Regions from separate parts of the Homo sapiens genome. Here region 2 is linked to region 1. Evidence: promoter capture Hi-C in 16 types of primary human blood cells and fetal thymus (Javierre and others, 2016). All regions are on one chromosome and are shown on one strand. The core of a region is centred on a gene start or on the middle of the fragment in contact, and the rest is flanking DNA. Distances in the headings are between cores, read along the strand shown. Region 1 holds the start of C1orf87 (chromosome 1 open reading frame 87). Region 2 overlaps PATJ (PATJ crumbs cell polarity complex component).

Region 1 (2,799 bases), core at 153-2,652:
GGGGGCTTGTCAGAGTTGGGCCTTGGGAAGACTGATCTGGAAGCAACGTGAAGGCTAGGAGGGAGGAGTGAGAAGGGAGCTGTCCCCGCTTCTCTGCTCCCTTAACACTTTCTATATCATAGAATGTGGCTGTGTGTCTCACCCTCTAGAGAGTGAGCCCCTGGAGGGGAGCTGAGTGTGCTGTCCACCTCTGGCTGCATGTGCCAGTGGGTGATATATTCACCTGTAAAGCACAGTACAGCTAGAGGTTAGGAGACAGGGGAACAGATGCTGGAGCTGCTGCTGCCTATGTTGATGCAAATAACAATACCGTTTGGGAATCAATCTAAAGTGTCTTTGCCTGCATCAGCTGAAGTTTCTTTTAGCATAATAACAACTGTCTGGAAATGTAGGATATGCAGATCTATATTCTAATCTTAGCTCTGTACTTGCTTTTGCAGGATTTGGAGTAGTTTATCAATACCCCAACTTGTTTCTTTTCTCTTTAAAATAAAGTAAAACTATTTTGTTTATAACTATTAACTTGTGAGGTGAGAGTTATCCAGCTTGTCATAGGGATCTGGCATAGAGACAGTACTCAACGTTATTATTATCAATCTATAATATTCTGGTTTTTTTGTTTCTTTGTTTGTTTGATATGGAGTCTCGCTCTGTTGCCCAGGCTGGAGTGCAGTAGTACCATCCTGGCTCACTGCAAGGTCCACCTCCCAAGTTCAAGCAATTCTCCTGCCTCAGCCTCCTGAGTAGCTGGGATTACAGGCGCGCACCACCACGACCGGCTAATTTTTTGTATTTTTAGTAGAGACGGGGTTTCACCATGTTAGCCAGGATGGTCTCAATCTCCTGACCTCGTGATCTGCCCACCTCGGCCTAACAAAGTGCTGGGATTACAGGGGTGAACCACTGAGCCCGGCCGATATTCTTATTTAATTTAGTCACCAAATCGCAGTTAGGACAGTGTTATTATTTTGCCCCGTTTCACAGATGAGGAAACAATCTCAGGGAAAAGAAGGGATTTACTCAAGCCATACAGTGGAGACGTCTGGATTTGAACCTACTGTGTTGGAATCTCAACTATGTGCAAACTCACAAAGGGAAATGAAGCCTTCGGAGGAAGGGCGGGACAAGGGTGACCACACAGGTGAGCGAGATGGGCTTCTAGAAGGACGCCCGCATATCTCTGAGGAACAGAGAAGGCACAGATCAAAAACACCTAGGCTCTTCACCCGTTGGCAGCCAGAGCCTGGGTCCATTGCCTAGGCAGTGGAGAAAAACCTGGTCCCCGCCCAGAAACAGCCTTCAGCGTCCTTAGCGACCAGGGCGGAACAGGCGCCGCCCGCGATGCGGGCCCTGTGATTGGCCGGATTCCTGGGCTCGGTCCCCACGCCCCGTCCCGTCCCCGGGTCTGAGAGTGTCAGCTTCCTGGGGAGAAGCACGGACCGCGCACCTCTGAGCTGCCAGGGTGGGGACGCTGCCCTAGCGGTAAGCCCCCCGACTCTGTTCTCTCCGGGCAATCAGGGCCGACACGCAGCTGCTGGGCAGGGAGGGGATTTGAGGATCACGAGTTCCGGGTCTGGAAGATTCCAGACAGGTGCAAAGAGGCTGCAGGTCCCCGGGATGAGGGGCTGCCCTAGCACAGGTCTTTAGTATTGGACTTTTGGGAAGAACCCTGGCCTAGACATCAGACCCAAGTACTGGAAACAGTCCCGTCCTTCATTCCTCTGTGACCCTTGTCAAATAACACACCCTCTCTGGGCCTTAGTTTTCCAATCTGTGAAGGAGCCTTTGGAGTAGAATGATTTCTAAAGGCCTTTCAGCCTCTGGGTGGTTCTAAAAGGGAGTGTTCAGCTGTGGCCAGATTTACTGAACTTCTGATTTTCCCTTGGCATCACTCTGTTTAAACACCTTGTGCAGGAGTTCAATTTCAGATTCATTGTATTGTTGTAGAAAGAGATCAGTGATAACAACAAAAGTCTGTCTGTCTTGTGTACAGTCTCCCTTCAGATGCATTATCTCCTTGGATTCACCCTCAAGTCCCTGAGAACAGACCTAGAATTACCCTGATCTCATAAATGGGGAAACTAAACATCAGAACTGAATATGGATTCTTCATATGTCCCACTAATGCCCTTGTTTCTGCTCTGACCTCACTGGAATTCCATCCTATGTCTTGTAGTACAGGAAGGTAGAGTCACCTAATGATTCAGTAGATCTGCTGTACAGACCTCTTAGGTGAGATTCCCAAGTCGGCTAATTACTGGTGATGTGATGTGATGTGAGTAAGTCATATAGCTACATTTTGCTTGTTTCCTCAACAGTAAAACAAAAATGATAATAGTAGTTAAAAATATCTTTCTCATGCCTTTGTTAGGAGTGTTAAGTGAGGTAATATAGGTGAAACACTTTGTCCTGCTATTATTATTGCTTGTTGTTATTGGCAAGGATGATGCAGTTCCCTAATGGAAAATCAAGAGGAACAATTTACTTATTTTCACCCCTAGGGATCTGAAGGGATTTTGAAAGGAATCATGTCTTCAGCCTGGAAGACTCCCCGTGGATCAGATGCAATGCCTGAGATCATGGTGAAAATCATTGGAAGTAAACACTTTCAATACCTCGTGGAGAAGCCAAAGATGTAAGTCCATATTTGAAAAATATCTATGTTGCTTGGATGATAATGAAGTTTTATTGTTTTGTTTTCACCCAGAAATTTAAACTTAAAAAATGCCATCCATGGAAAACGAAGTCATTAAGATGCAACAGTAGAGGTAAAATCGTGTTGATAACTTCCATGTGCAC
Region 2 (2,799 bases), core at 106-2,605, 2.0 Mb before region 1:
CTAGCGTAGTCTCCTGAGTGAGAAGAGAGAAAAAAACCTGGTGAGACATCCTGGAGATGGCATTTCTTTTCCCTCCTCCACGTTTGCCTCACCCTAGCCAGTCCTGAGTCAATCTTTTTATTTACTTCTCTCATGGAATCCAGCCCCAAACCCAGCTCATACCAAGTCCTCAATAAATGCTTGGTAAGTAGATGAGTAAATGAATAAAATTTCTATAGATTCAACTGTAGGATGATGAACTTCATTTATTTATTTATTTGTTTATTTATTATTTAACCATGAGAATGAAAACCAGGAAGGATGCTGAATTTCTGTCATCTAAGTATAAATATGTGATATATATTACCAAAACTCAACTTGTCTACCTCCATAGTCAGCATGCATTGTTGGTAAAGTGCCAAGTATACATATTTTAATAGGGCATTACAGGCCAGACTGTCTCTGTTGTGACTACTTAACTCCATCATTATAGTGTGAAAAAAGCCACTGACAATACAGAAACAAATGAGTGTCTATAAACCTGTATTTGTGGACACTGAAATATGAATTTCATAGAATATTTTAATAAAATTTTCTTAGGTGTTTTTTCAACCTTTAAAAAGTGAACACCTTTTTTAGCTTGTAGACCATACACAACTAGCTGGTAGGCCAGATTTGACCCATGCGCCATAGTTTTCTGACCACATGCATCAAATGTTTTAGTACATCTACAATGCTTTAAAATAGTACCTGCTTGATGAACTTTATGAAGTTAATATTTATGAAAAAATATATAAAAGGCAAATACCACAAAGATTTCAGAACTGCTAAATTAATGCAGGGTTATGCTTTGCCATTGGTGAGTACTGTCTTTTAAAGAGTTTTATTTTTTACTGATGTATACTGCACAAAAGCAAAGTAGGGCTGGGCACAGTGGCTCACGTCTGTAATCCCAGCACTTTTGGAGGCCGAGGCAGGCAGATCACTTGAGGTCAAGAGTTTGAGACCAGCCTGGCCAACATGGTGAAACCCCATCTCTACTAAAAATGTAAAAATTAGCCGGGCATGGTGGTGAGCACCTGTAATCCCAGCTACTCAGGAGGCCGAGGCAGGAGAATCACTTGAACCCAGGAGGCAGAGGTTGCAGTGAGCTGAGATCAGCCCCCTGCCCTCCAGCCTGGGTGACAGAATGAGACTCTGTCTCAAAAAAAAAGAAAAAAAAGCAAGTAGAAATACCTATTATTCTTTATAAAGTTCTATTTTCAACCCCCAGTCAGCATAATTCAAGCCAGGAATTTAAAGACAGAATGTGCATGCCAATTTCTTTAAGCATTGAAAATCAACATTCTTCAAACAGCTTAAAGCAACATTTGCAGGGCTAAAAATTGGGTTTGATAGGATTTTTAAAGAGATATTACTCAAGACCTAAATATAATCTTTTGTAGAGATTAGAGAAGAATAATACAGAAGCCTCAGATTCAAATAACATTTACTGAGGTCCTTTTCTTTTCCTTTTTTTTTTTTTTGAGACAGAGTCTCACTCTGTCACCCAGGCTGGAGTGCAGTGGTGCAATCTCAGCTTACTGCAACTTCTGCCTCCTGGGTTCAGGCGATTCTCCTGCCTCAGCCTCCCGAGTAGCTGGGATTACAGGCATGCGCCACCATGCCTGGCTAATTTTTCGTATTTTTAGTAGAGACAGGGTTTCACCATGTTGGCCAGGCTGGTCTTGAACTCCTGACCTACTGAGGTCCTGTTCTGTTCTAGTGCTCTTATATTCAAAAAGCAACAGGCAATGGCGATGGCAGAGAGGAGGAAAAATGATGTAGGAAATGAAGTGACCTATCCAAGCCCCAAAGCTAAGGAAGCGGAGGAAGTATCCAGAGTCAGACTTCTGCCTCCTGGTCCAGTTCTCGTTTTAGGACATTATGATCCCTTGCCTTCTCTAAGGCTTAATGAGCCAGATCTGCTGAGAGAAAGAATCATACCATAGCCTGTGAAGTCTGCATCTGTTGAATGGTATGATGAAGCTGGTGCTAATGGTATCTCTTGTGAACTGAAGGAGACTTTTGTTGGATATTTTTGCTGTTTCATCTGGCTGACAGCCTACAAAAGAAAGGAAAATTAGATGAATATCAAAAAGGAGAAAGGTAACAAGAAAATACTTTAAAACTGGTGTATTGTTACCAAAACAATGGTGCAGTCCAATGATGTCTTTTGAGAATATAAGGTTGGAGGGTGGCAAGAAGTTAGGATGATTTATGCCTCGTTCCTCATTCTTCCCTATTTAACTTTACAACTAAAATGCTTTGATGAAGGGCAGATCAAGGAAGGGAGGAAAGATAAAAGCTGAAGATACTCTGTCAGTGTGATCTGTACATGAAGCTGGGGGTGGGAGGCAAAACAAAAATTATCTTGCAATTTCTACTCATTCTGATGAAATCAGCAAGAAGCCCCTTTATCTATGGACTTTGAAGTGACTTATCTGTGTTGTGCACATTGAAAAACAATCTACGCTGGGGATGTTTAGAGCATCAACACTGTCCATTTCTTCTGGACACACTAGAGTCAAAGATGCATTTGGTAGGTTAATTAAGCAAAATGAGGGGCAGACAAAGAAAACCAACACCTACTGAAAGCCTACTAAATGCCAGCTACATCAGTGACATTTAATTCACATAAAGGAAGCATAGCTCCTTTATTGAGTCCCTACTATGTTCCAGGCACCTACGATACCCAGTGCCTGGAACATAGTAGGGACTCAATAAAGTGCTTGATGAATGAATGAACAAGAAAGAAAGAACAAAGAAAAGCAAAACTGA

The links. The method cuts DNA at HindIII sites, captures the fragments that hold promoters and counts their contacts. A CHiCAGO score of 5 or more calls a contact.
Region 2: a contact is called between a fragment that was not itself captured here and the fragment with the promoter of C1orf87 in region 1, in 1 of 17 cell types (M0 macrophages). The highest score is 5.8, in M0 macrophages.

The regions. Positions count from the first base shown.
Region 1 is chr1:60,072,373-60,075,171 of GRCh38, reverse strand. C1orf87 (chromosome 1 open reading frame 87) reads left to right here and starts at 1,402. Exons shown (of 12, transcript NM_152377.3): 1 at 1,402-1,482; 2 at 2,502-2,635. The coding sequence starts at 2,529. The HindIII fragment of the contact is 5,384 bases long and covers 1-2,799 here.
Region 2 is chr1:62,078,734-62,081,532 of GRCh38, reverse strand. It overlaps PATJ (PATJ crumbs cell polarity complex component), which reads right to left. Exons shown (of 44, transcript NM_001350145.3): 32 at 1,966-2,083. MIR3116-1 (microRNA 3116-1) reads right to left here and starts at 2,747; the gene lies at 2,674-2,747. MIR3116-2 (microRNA 3116-2) reads left to right here and starts at 2,677; the gene lies at 2,677-2,744. The HindIII fragment of the contact is 4,785 bases long and covers 1-2,799 here.